Linked DNA regions of Homo sapiens: regions 1, 2 and 4 are each linked to region 3. The links are contacts of gene promoters, found by promoter capture Hi-C in blood cells and fetal thymus (Javierre and others, 2016). All regions are on one chromosome and are shown on one strand. The core of a region is centred on a gene start or on the middle of the fragment in contact, and the rest is flanking DNA. Distances in the headings are between cores, read along the strand shown.

What was found. The method cuts DNA at HindIII sites, captures the fragments that hold promoters and counts their contacts. A CHiCAGO score of 5 or more calls a contact.
Region 1: a fragment that was not itself captured here is called in contact with the fragment with the promoter of WNT7A in region 3 in 1 of 17 cell types (M0 macrophages); the score reaches 5.7 in M0 macrophages.
Region 2: a contact is called between a fragment that was not itself captured here and the fragment with the promoter of WNT7A in region 3, in 1 of 17 cell types (M0 macrophages). The highest score is 5.6, in M0 macrophages.
Region 4: a fragment that was not itself captured here is called in contact with the fragment with the promoter of WNT7A in region 3 in 1 of 17 cell types (M0 macrophages); the score reaches 7.3 in M0 macrophages.

What each region holds. Positions count from the first base shown.
Region 1 is chr3:14,564,854-14,568,055 of GRCh38, reverse strand. It overlaps a transcript of GRIP2 not described here. Among named protein-coding and RNA genes, the nearest start is that of GRIP2, 26 kb to the right of the region's middle. The HindIII fragment of the contact is 5,512 bases long and covers 1-3,202 here.
Region 2 is chr3:14,623,652-14,626,873 of GRCh38, reverse strand. No RefSeq gene overlaps it. Among named protein-coding and RNA genes, the nearest start is that of CCDC174, 26 kb to the left of the region's middle. The HindIII fragment of the contact is 778 bases long and covers 1,394-2,171 here.
Region 3 is chr3:13,878,574-13,881,687 of GRCh38, reverse strand. It overlaps WNT7A (Wnt family member 7A), which reads left to right and starts at 1,617. Exons shown (of 4, transcript NM_004625.4): 1 at 1,617-1,942. The coding sequence starts at 1,872. RefSeq lists enhancers at 1,639-2,140, 2,643-3,114. The HindIII fragment of the contact is 8,507 bases long and covers 1-3,114 here.
Region 4 is chr3:14,528,481-14,531,297 of GRCh38, reverse strand. The region is part of intron 1 of GRIP2 (glutamate receptor interacting protein 2); the gene reads left to right. It also overlaps the pseudogene RNU6-905P. Among named protein-coding and RNA genes, the nearest start is that of GRIP2, 10 kb to the left of the region's middle. The HindIII fragment of the contact is 545 bases long and covers 1,163-1,707 here.

The DNA of each region.
Region 1 (3,202 bases), core at 246-2,745, 690 kb before region 3:
CCGTCCATCACTCAGCTTCAGCCCTGGCCTCCTTGCTGGGCCTCAAACCAGGGCCTTTGCATGGGCCGTGTTCTTTGCCTGGCTCAGCAATCTGCATGGTTGGGCATGGTTGGGTCCCCTATTCCCTTCATTTGTGTGAAGACTTGATCACAGAGACCTCCCCCTACCTCATAACCATCTCACACCACTTCATTTTTCTTCAAAGCACTTATTTCAACCTGTGGTGTGTTACATATTTATCATGTCTTTGTTTGTCTCTCTGCGTAGAACGTAAGTGCTGGAAGCCTTATTCACTGCTGGAGCATAAGAGCTGCCCAGCACATGAGCAAGTGAATGAATGACGGGCACTATTGAATGCTTTGGGCCTGGGAATAAATGCTACTGGATTATACCGCTGTCATCATCATTACAGGTTCTCTCAATGCTCCCACTGCCAGGGCCTCATGAAAATCCTTGTTTGAGGACTAGAAGAGTCCCCAGTGTGTGTTGTGACCTTGTTATCACCCCTGGTTTTCCTTGTCCCTGGAGTGGTGGCATCATCCTGAACCTCGTGCTGTCTCTCCTGACTCCTGGGATGCCATGTTTCCTGGGATGCCATGTCTCCTGGGATGCCATGACTCCTGGGATGCCATGTGACACTGCAGCCCAGAGGCATGCAGGGTCCCCAGGGAGGGCATGAGGGATGGTTGGCCTCACTGAGCGGGATCCCATGCTGCAGAGGCAGGGGGCTTAGAATGACTTGTAGCCAAGATTCGTCTTAGGGGCCTGCTCCCTTCTTGTAGGTATTTTTTCCAGTGCTCAGGAACAGATTGGAAGGGTGTTTGGAACCAAGAGTCCTGGGTATGAGTCCTAGCCTTGCCCTCACTGCTGAGTGAGTTGCATAAGAATCTGCCCCAAACTGAAAGGGAAATCGAGGGGAATCATTGAATGCTCCAGCTGGCCTCAAGCAGCAGGACTGAGGGCAAAGGGCAAAAAGATGCCTCAAGGCTGGGCAGTTGACGTTCATTCATTCATTCATTCATTCATTCATTCAAGTGAGTCCTTTGGGAGCCACAGAAGATTGTAGAGAGGGAGAGAAGTGATGTGATCATTTCACAGATTATTGGAGGTGAGGTTGACCCTACCTTTGATTATTGGACCCCACCTCCAATAATCAGAAAGGACCTCAGAGAGGGCCAACTTCTTAATTTTACAGTGGGGAAACTGAGGCCCAGAGTAGGCAGAGAATCATCCCAGGTCACACAGTGGCCATGTGACTGCATCTCTCACTGGAAGCCATGGAAAGGGGAGTTTTCCAGGGTTAAGGGCAAGATTGGAGCTCTCTGGAGCTAAGGGCAAGATTGGAGGGGTCAGGGGCTGTGAAAAGGAGCTTTTAGGAGGTCACGGCTTGCTTGGTGAGCAACACGGATGGCTTACACTGTCCCTTTGAACACTGAATGGTCTGAGGTCCAATGATGTTGATCGCCTTGCTCTGTCCCCACCCTGACTCTGATAACCTGTGGTTTGGCTCCACTCGCTGCTGTGGCTTCTGTCTGTAGTTCTGGCATTCTCTGCTGCGGTTCTAATGGCCTGTGGCCAGACCACAGCGTGGTGGGTATGGATCCATGAGCGTAATGCCTGCAGTTCTTGAGCTACCATCTGGGGCTTCCTGAAGCTAACATTCTGTGGCTCCAGGGTTTCAATTTTGTGTGCCCTTGTGGGCTGTCGCCCAGTCCTGTGGTGTGTGACTCTGTGTTCCCATCCCTGGGAGCTCTGTGGCCTTGTGGGCTATCATCCAGTCCCCTGTGGTCATGTGGCTCTGTGATCTTGTCTAAGAGCCCTGTGGCTCTCATGGTCTGTCACCTAGTTTCCTGCTGGACTCCGATTCCCACACTACGGTGGCTCGTTTGAATGGCCAGAGTCACAGGACTTTGTCCAGATCATTGACCCTGCTGACCTGGAGAAAGATCACACAGTTATTGGCCATGCTGCAGCAAGGCTGGGCTGTCTGAGAGCCTCAGGGCACCTCTGGGATGCGCTCCTCCCTTTCTTCATCTGAGGCTAGAAGCCTCTGTGCTGTGACCCACAGGAAGCAGCACCCAGAGATGGCCCTGCCACTAGCAAGCTATGAGTGAACTGTGTCACCTAGGGCACGCTCCTTTCTCTGTGCTTGAGCTTGGCAGTTGTGGGGGTGAGATGCATGGCAGGATGGGGGCTGTGCTGGTGACGAGGTGGCCGGGACAAGCTCCAGCGCCCCTCTGTGTGGGCTTCCAGTTTTCTATGGGCCAGGTGGGAGGTACAGACCTGCAGACTGCCCGCGTGAAGGGCGATGCTGGGACATAGCTCCCTGCAAGGGTCTGTCACACCCACTTTCCCGTTCCCAAGGCAGTGCTGTGCTGCTGGCCACTTACACTGAGGATGCCAAGGCCCGGAGTGGGTAAATTTTACACAGCCCCTTCTCATCCTGTGGCACAACCCTGCTCTCCCACCTCTCCGGGCCTTCGGGACTTGGGGTGTGGGATTTGTTGGGGAGGTAGGGAGAGAGGAGGCAGGGTCCTGCCCAGCTGTGCGGGTTGGTTCTTGTTGCCATGTGGAGGCTGGAGGCCTTTTCCTGTGTTTGTGAGGGCCTGAGAAGCCCTATTAGCGTGGGGGTCCAGCTCCACTCCAGCCACTGGCCCAACAGGCACATCTGCTAAGTGGGAACAGCAGCCCCGTCTGGGAGCCCAGCACTTGAGTTCAAGCCCTGACTCTGCTTTCAATGGACTCTGTGACCTTGAGCTTGTTTTTTCCCTTCTCAATTAACCCACCTGCCAGAGGGGACAAGAACCCCTCATGTAACACTGTCTCCCCAAGGGTAGACCCAGCCTTCGCCCCTTTCCCTTAATTCTTGCCTCGTTTCCCAGATGAGGGTCTCACTGGCTGGTGCCCAGGGAAGAGCGGGAGCCTGATCCCATCTCCCACTTCTGACCTGGAAAAGCCCTCTCAACCCCCAGAAATGCTGGGCAGACCCCCTGGCACAGAGACCCAGGGTCACTGGAGCTCGGGTGCCCGGCTGTGGGCTGTGCCGTGCCCCTTGTGCTCGGGGTGCTGTGTTTGCTCTATTGAATCACACCACCCACATGCTCGCACGGAGCTGAGCAAGAGGCGCGTCTGTGTTTAGAATAGCAGGGTGGGTCCCAGGGTAGGCCTGGCCAGCACCTGATTCAGATTCCCACTCGGCTTC
Region 2 (3,222 bases), core at 533-3,032, 750 kb before region 3:
GGCGTGGGGGCTCATGCTTGTAATCCCAGCACTTTGGGAGGCTGAGGCGGGCAGATCACGAGGTCAGGAGATCGAGACCATCCTGGCTAACACAGTGAAACCCTGTCTCTACTAAAAATACAAAAAATTAGCTGGGCATGGTGGCACGCACCTGTAATCCCAGCTACTCGGGAGACTGAGGCAGGAGAATTGCTTGAACCCGGGAGGCGGAGGTTCCAGTGAGCCGAGATTGTGCCACTGCACTCCAGCCTGGGTGACAGAGCAAGACTCCGTCTCAATAAATAAATAAATTAAATTAAATTAAATTTAAAAAAAGAAGTTGCTGGGGCTGGCCAGATGCGCTAGCTCACGCTTGTAATCCCAGCACTTTGGGAGGCTGAGGTGGGCAGATTGCAAGGTCAAGAGATAAGACTGGCCAGGCGCGGTGGCTCATGCCTATAATCCCAGCACTTTGGGAGGCCGAGGTGGGTGGATCACGAGGTCAGGAGATCGAGACCATCCTGGCTAACATGGTGAAACCCCGTCTCTACTAAAAATACAAAAAATTAGCTGGACATGGTGGTGGGTGCCTGTAGTACAAGCTACTCAGGAGGCTGAGGCAGGAGAATGGCATGAACCCAGGAGGCAGAGCTTGCAGTGAGCTGAGATCACGCCACTGCACTCCAGCCTGGGCGACGGAGCGAGACTCCGTCTCAAAAAAAAAAAAAAGAAAAAGAAAAAGAAAAAGAGATCAAGACCATCCTGGCCAACATGGTGAAACCCCGTCTCTACAAAAATAATAAAATTAGCTGGGTGTGGTGGCGGGCGCCTGTAGTCCCAGCTACTCGGGAGGCTGAGGCAGGAGAATCGCTTGAACCCAGGAGGTGGAGGTTGCAGTGAGCCGAGATCATGCCACTGCACTCCAACCTGGCGACAGAGCAAGACTCCGTCCCCCACAAAAAAAAAAGAAATAAAAAAGAAGGAGTTACTGGGGCCCACCCTTTGTGGAGCCCCCTGTGGAACAGCCTCCTCAAGGGTGTCACCCCTACCTCAGTAGCTTCTCAAAGCTATCCTTTCAAACCCACATGTTTCTCCCAGGGACGTTTTAGCAGCACTTAGACATTGGTGCCTTAGACATCTTCTGACTCTCTGTCCCCTTCATCCAGTTCAGGGGCCAACAGGAGACTCCTAAAAACCAGAACTCAGGGACTGGGACAAAAATGCTGAGTGGGTTGCGTGAAGCCACACAGCCTGGAGTTGACCTCAGCTCCCGCTGACACAATGTGTGGTCTGGGACTGGCCCTGCCACCACTGGGAAGATTATCAGAAATGCAGAATCCCCGGCCCCGGGACCTACTGAGTCAGAATCTGCATTTTAACAAATCTCCAAGTGACCCATATGCACATTGAAGCTTGAAAAGTAGTGCACTCTGTATGTTGCACGGAACTAGCCAAACAAAAAGAAGAAAAGTGGCAAAAACTAACTTTGGCTGGGTTGAAACAAGGAAATTAGAAAGAGTTATTGTTTCTCTTCTACACATTCCAAAATGTGATTATATTACTTTTGTGATGAAAAAAATAAACGCTTAAAATTTAAGAAAATCTGAGGCACAAAATTACACAATGTCATAAAACTAGTAAATTATGAAATGGTTATTTGCATTTAAAAGTAGGTCCCATTTACAGTCTGTAATTGCTTTTTGCTTTAATTGTTCTTTCTTGCTTTCTTATTTCTCCTCCCTTCCTCCCTCCCTCTCTTCCTCCCCCTGCCTTCTTCCTTTCTTTTAAAAGTACCCCAAAGCCAGAAGCAGAGGTGGTTTTGAAGGCAGGCTTAGGCCTCACCCCCTTGGGAATGGCTGGTGCAGGGAAGGGCACCTTCTGTCTGCAAAGGGAGCTTATTATAATATAGATCTTTTCAAAAGTGAATAGGGATGAAAATTTCCATGTTTATTGAAATGAAAAACAACAAATGATTTAAGGGTTAAGTGTGATTTGCAACTTGCCTTTTCTCCCAGGTGATATCCCTTCATTAATTCTTTTTCTGTCTACACAGGATGAAGGCCCCTTCCCTTTCCCAAATTTCTCAAGGTTTTTAAACCCCAAAACTGCTGACTTCAGACTTGGCCTCTTTGCCTAGTTTACTCTTACTTGTCCTTCAGCACTCAGCATGAATGTCACTTCTCAGGGAAGCTTTCCAAAACCCTTTAGTCCTGTATCAGGCAGAGCTCTTGATTGCAAGGGGTGGAAAAACAAACTTAAAGTGACTTAAGTCAAAAAGGGTGACTGTTGGTTCAGATAATGGAAAAGCCCAGCTAGTATCTGGCTTCAGGTATAGCTAGATCTAGGGTCTCAAATGACATTGCCAGAAGCTGCCTAGTGAAAAATCTCTCACCTTTCCTCTGTGAGGCTCCAGGCTTAAGCAAGCTCTCCCCTGGGGCTCCTATTTAAGCTCAAGATATTTGAGCTTCCAGCTTAGAAACCCCAATTGAGAGAGAACAACCCTCTTCCAGTTGTCCCTACAAAAGTCCCAGAGTCGAATCTCATTGGCCCGACTTAGGTCACATGCATATCTTTGACCAGTCATTGGAGTGGTCAGAGAATGGAGTGTTCCCATCAGGCAGGGTCATGTGCCCACCATAAACTCCTTCCCGCCTGAGTTACATGGGCTGATGGAAGGAAAAAGTACGTCCCTGAAGGAAAATTAAGAAGATGAGGTCACGAGGCTGAGTGGGCAATACAACAGCAGTTTACAACAGACCTCCTGTTACAAGGTTTCATAGCACCCTGTAATTTGCATTTGTAACATTTACTGGCTTTTAAAAACTATATAGTAATTTGAGTGGTTCCTTGATTAGTGTCTGTCTCCATTGAGATTGAAACCCTAAGAGCAGACGTTATGTGTGCTCACGGTTAACAGTATCCACAATGCCTGACACAAAGTAGGTGTTCATGAAATATTTATTGAATGAGTGGACTCACTCCAACTGCTTTAACAACAGCTCTGTTTACTCACATTTACTAGGGACGATCTGGAATGCTGGCAATCGGCCTCCCCATTTTAAATCAGATTTGGCCACTGACATAGCCAGAACCTCTGTCTCAGCTGTGCCCTGGGACAATCTGTGCCAAGGAAATGCTGTTCTGCCAAACTGGGGACATCTGCCACATAGCTGATGGCAACTAGAAACTTGTCAGCTAGTACAGCCCCTGGGGTGGGTTGGCAGCAGACAGGGTGGGGGAGAG
Region 3 (3,114 bases), core at 368-2,867:
CTGGGGCTCATGCCCACCTCTGAGCTTTTGCACCTGCTGGTCCCCTTCCTGCAGTGCTGGACCCCTGATGCTGTGTCCTTCAGGCCTCACCTCAAATGCCACCTCCTCAGATCTAAAATTAACCCTCCAACACCCAGTATTCCCTCTCCCATCACCCTGCTTAATGGTCTACTATCTGCAACTCTGTTCTTGTTCACTTATCATCTGTCTCCTTCCTGGCCCCAAGAAGAAAGACTGTTGCCTTTCTTCTTCCTTGTGTCCACGGTGCCCACTATCGTGGTTGGCACAGAATATGGAATATGAATGAATACCTGAATGGTGGCTTTCGGGTGTGTGTGTGTGTGTGTGTGTGTGTAATTTAGAAAGGCAATCTTGAAGGATAGTCAGGACTGGGTGCAGGAGGTTACTACAGTTGGGCATACTTTGTTTCCCATATGGTTGTGCCACTCGCTAGCTGGTGACTCTGGGCAAACACCTTCACCTCCTTGAGCCTCAGTGTCTTCAGCTGAAACCTGAGTTCAGATTTGCCAGACCTGGGCATAGGGACAGCAGGTCCAGCAGGAACACCAAGCCAGGACCACAGCCACTCCCAGGGAGCTCAGTCCCTGGAGCCCGAGAGGAACACTCTCCGGAGGCGCAGGCGCAGCCGCTCCTAGAGACTGGGCAACCCCCAGGTGGCAGGCGGGACCGGTCCGTGCAAACAGGGAACAGGTACCCGGAGGATGGACATTCGCTGGCAAAAACATAAACTGCCGCTCGGAGTCTTGGCACCACCCAATTTCCAGGGACGGTTAGACTCCCCCTAGCTCACTGGATGAGGTGTACACCAAAGAAGGGTGTTAGCCCCCTCGGGTCGGCCAGGGCACTCAAAGCATTCTGTTCCCGGGAGCGAGGCCGAGGTGCACCACCCGCCGCGTCCGCCTGGTGACGCCGCGAGCGCGCTCTGAGCGGCCAGCTGCGCCCCTCACGCTCCCGCGGCTCAGGCGCCCCACTGCTGTTCCGCGCGGGGCAACTGGGCCTCAGCCCGACTCAGTCTGTCGGCTAACAGCAGGATCCCAGAGGAGGCTGCCCAACCTGGGCACCCCCTGCCGCCACTCTCGAATAGGTGGGAGTAGGGAAGAAATACACTGAGCCAGTCAGCCCGTCGCTCCGCGAAAGGGGGCGCCCTCCCCTGAAGCTGGGGTTGGGGAACTGGGGTGTGCCCTGTCAGCCCCAGCTCCCTGTTCCGGGCTGGAGGGAGCAGGGCAGCAGACCAAGGCACTAGGCCTCTCGGCCGAGTCTGGTCCACTCCACCCGAGGGCAGCCTCTGGACGCCCACTCGCCCTGCAATCTGCAAGTTAGTGACGGGTGGGGGGCGAGCGGGCTCCTACCGCCTCCAACCGGGCTGTGCTCCCCAGCCTGCCACCTGCACCCCGGAGCAGGGAGGGGGCCCCCGGGAGCGCGCATGGAAAGGCGCGAGCGCGCGCCTTGTGCAGGCGGCCCTGTCCCGCGGGCGCAGGGGCGCTGGGCGGGCGCTCCGGGGAGGCGGGCGGGGGAGGGGGCGGGGGAGGGACGGGGGAAAGGAGGGAGGGGCGGGGGCTGGAGGCAGCAGCGCCCCCGCACTCCCCGCGTCTCGCACACTTGCACCGGTCGCTCGCGCGCAGCCCGGCGTCGCCCCACGCCGCGCTCGCTCCTCCCTCCCTCCTCCCGCTCCGTGGCTCCCGTGCTCCTGGCGAGGCTCAGGCGCGGAGCGCGCGGACGGGCGCACCGACAGACGGCCCCGGGGACGCCTCGGCTCGCGCCTCCCGGGCGGGCTATGTTGATTGCCCCGCCGGGGCCGGCCCGCGGGATCAGCACAGCCCGGCCCGCGGCCCCGGCGGCCAATCGGGACTATGAACCGGAAAGCGCGGCGCTGCCTGGGCCACCTCTTTCTCAGCCTGGGCATGGTCTACCTCCGGATCGGGTAAGGGCTGCCTGCGCCCTTTCCGCGCGTGTTTCGACAAAGTTGGCACGGCCCGGGGAGGGAGGTGTGCCGCCTGCGAGCCTCTGCCGGCCAACTTCCACAGCTTCTCTGAGAGGCCGGGTGGGTGCGGTGTGGGAGCGGTGGACGCACAAAGGCCCCCCGCAGGACACCCCAGGAGATATAGGCAGGGGGACTGGCCATCCTGAGGACGTCTGAGTCTGGAATCCCCCAGGACCAGAGACAGCCGGTAGGGACGCTCCAGCCTGAGGGACTCTGGGGGAGGGCTAGCTGCTGCAAAGGTTCAGCCCATCCCGGGGACCCTTCGGACCCGGGCATAGGGACAGCAGGTCTAGCAGGAACATCAAGCCAGGACCACAGCCAATCTCGGGGAGCTCAGTCCCCGGAGCCCGAGACGAACTCTCTCAGGAGGCGCGGCACAGCCGTTCCTAGAGACTGGGCAGTCCCCAGGTGGCTGGCGGGGCCGGTCCGTGCAAACAGGGAACAGGTACCCAGGAGGAAGGACATTCGCTGGCAAAAACATAAACCGCCGCTCGGAGCCTTGGCACCACCCAATTTCCAGGGGCCCTTAGACTCCCAGAGCCCCTTCCCGGGCCAAGGGGACAGCACGTCCCACCCCCAACAAACACACACAAAGGTGGGACGAGAGGCGGTCTGAGACACAGAGGGAGACAAGCGCTAGAGAGAGGCGGGACACCCCGCCCCCTGGAACTGGGCAGCAGAGGCGGCCGGGCGCGCGAGCAGCCCTCCGGCTTCACCTAGCGTTTCTGTGGAGGTGGGGCTCGGGGGCGCTCTGGCTGGAAGGTGGGAGGGGGCAGCTCGGGACGCGTCCTGGAGCTGCTTGTGCAAAGCCGGTCACCCTTTGTACTTAAGACAACGCGTGTGAGGCTCGGAGCGGTGTGGGGGCGGGGGGATCTGGGCATGGATAGAGGTTCTGGCGCTGAAGGGCCCGCTTGGTAGGTCTCACACACCCTGCCCCTCCAGCCCCCAGCAGTGAACCCATTACCATCCCTTTTGAGGAGGGGTGGACCGCAGGGGCTGCGGCGAGGGGATGTGCGTGGCAGACCCTTTGTGTTTTGTCACTACTACCCCCCTACCCCGTCACTTCCCCAGTCCACGTCTCTGGAGCGGGGATTTCGCAAGTTGTCCGGCCG
Region 4 (2,817 bases), core at 186-2,685, 650 kb before region 3:
AAGGATGGTCTGTGTAATCACCCCATCAACTTTGTAAGGGAGGTCTGGCCAGTCCAATAAGGCAAATAAGAGAAATGAAAGGCATAAAGTTTAGAAAGTAAGAAATAAAACTGTCATTTTCACAGATGATATGATTATGTATATAGAAAATCCAAAAGAATGTATGGCTAAACTTAGAATTAATGAGTGAATTTAAAAGTTCAGAATACGTACTCGCTTAGGCAGCACAGATACTAAAATTGGAATGATACAGAGAAGATTAGCATGGCCTCTGTGCAAGAATGACACACAAATTTGTGAAGTCTTCCGTAGTTTTGCAAAAAAAAATAGAAAGAATGAATAAGACCTAGTATTTGATAGCACACTAGGGTGACTATAGTCAATAATGATGTAATTGTACATTTAAAAATAACTAAAAAGATTTAATTGGATTGTTTGTAACACAAAGGATAAATGCTTGAGGTGATGGATACCCCATTTACTTTGATGTGATTATTATGCAGTGCGTACCTGTATCAAAATATCTCATCTACCCCATAGATATATACACCTACTACATACCCACAAGAATTAAAAATAAATTTTTTAAGCTCAGAATATAAAACGAACTGTATATTTTTACACCAGGAACAAATAATTAGAAAATGAAATTTGAAAAACAATCCAATTTCTGTAGCTTTAACACACTTTAAATGCCTAGGAATACATTTAATGAGAGTGGTATAAGACTTTTTCTCATACAAGTACACAGTGTTCTTAGGAGAAATTAAAGATAAAAATGAATGGAGGAATATACTGTGATCATTGACTGGAAGATTCAATATTGTCTCCCAAAGAAAAAGACATCAATTCTCCACAAATGGGCCTATACATGCATTTCCACTCAAAAAATGGAGAGAAATGGAAAACAAGTAGGATGAGTGCAGGTGATGCTGGGGCTTCTCTACTGGGGTGGCAGCAGGAATGGGGGGATGTTTGTGCGTCTGGTAGCCGAAGGCTTGGGTTTTAATGGCTCAGAGACACAGGAAAAGCTACCTTGTACTTTCCCAAGTTGGTACTGAGACCCCGGCATAAAGCCAGGACCTTTGAAGAGATCTACCCTCAGTGAAAGAGGAGACTTGGAAAATATTCACCCGTCTATCAGGGAGCTAAAACAAAAGCTTATCTGTCTCAACTCAGCCTCCAGTGGTCTCCTTTGAGGATTTGTGATCTAAGGTGTGCCCCTTGTTTCTGGTGAACATTAGAATTTATAATACCTCCATGGTTCTGAAATCTTTGAGCCAAGATTGGTATTTACAATACCATGGAGGTATTATAAATTCTAATGAGTGTTGTAAATACCCATAATCATTGATATCAGGGTAATGATACTTTGGCAAGCACCCAGGGGAAGGAATGGAAAATTCTCTCTGGACCCTGGAGCCCTACAACCAGGCTGAATAGAATTCCCACAGTTGAAGCACTACTAAAGATGAGTTCACAATCCAACAATTACCAACCACACGAGGAAACAGTCTACTGTAAGGGAGAGTCATCAGACACTAGGCAGAAGAAATACCTCCCAAGAGTTTGAGATAATGGAAAAATAAAATAATAGGTGAATGTTCAAAATATTTAAAATTATTAGAAAGATAAGGAGCAACAGAAAAAGGAAGAGCAAAATATAAAAACAGAACAAAGATAAAAGCAAAATAATCAAACAAAGCTTTCAAGAGCCATAAATGTACTGTTGGAATTAAAATTTGGAATGGGTATTAGACTAATAATTATGGTATTACTTTGTAAGGTGGGATATAATACTTTTATTGTATAAGAAATATGTTCTTATTTAGAAATGCATATTGAAATATTTAAAGGTGAAATTGCATTATGCCCAGGATTTGTTTTAAAATATTTCAGCATAGATAAAAATAAATGGGCTAAATACTGCAAAGTGTTAATGATTGTTAAAACTACCTGTGAGGTAATACCAATTCATTATACAAGTGTTTTTCCTTTTTTTTTTTTTTTTTTTTTTTTGAGACGGAGTCTCACTCTGTCGCCCAGGCTGGAATGCAGTGGCACGGTCTCGGCTCACTGCCACCTCCGCCTCCCAGGTTCACGCCATTCACCTGCCTCAGCCTCCCAGGTAGCTGGGACTACAGGCGCCTGCCACCACGCCCAGCTAATTTTTTTTTTTTTTTGTATTTTTAGTAGAGATAGGGTTTCACTGTGTTAGCCAGGATGGTTTTGATCTCCTGACCTCATGATCCGCCCCCTTTGGCCTCCCAAAGTGCTGGGATTACAGGCGTGAGCCACCACGCCCAGCCACAAATGTTTTTCAAACTTTAGTGCGACACAGAGTCACCTAGAAGGCTTTTCAAAGCACACATTATTACATCTGACAATGGATTTGTATCCGGAATATATGAAAACTCAATAACAAGGAAACAAACAACCCAACTTAAAAATGGGCAAAAGCTTTGGCACTTCCCCAAAGAAGATATAGATGAATGGCAAGTTAAAAAAAGTGCCCAACCTCATTAGTCATTAGACAAATGCAAATTAAAATCACAGTAAGATACCTCTGCACATGTATTAGCATGACTAATTTTTTTTTTTAATTAGGGAGACAGGGTTTTGCTGTGTTGCCCAGGCTGGTCTTGAATTCCTGGGCTCAAGCAATCCTTCTACCCTGGCCTCCCAAAGTGTTGGGGTCACAGGTATAAGCCAGTGTGCCCAGCTTAAATTTTTTCGTTTAAACCCTAACTGATATTACCAAGTGCTGATGAGGATGCACAGCGATTGAAACTCTTTTACATTGTTGGTCGGGTGCAA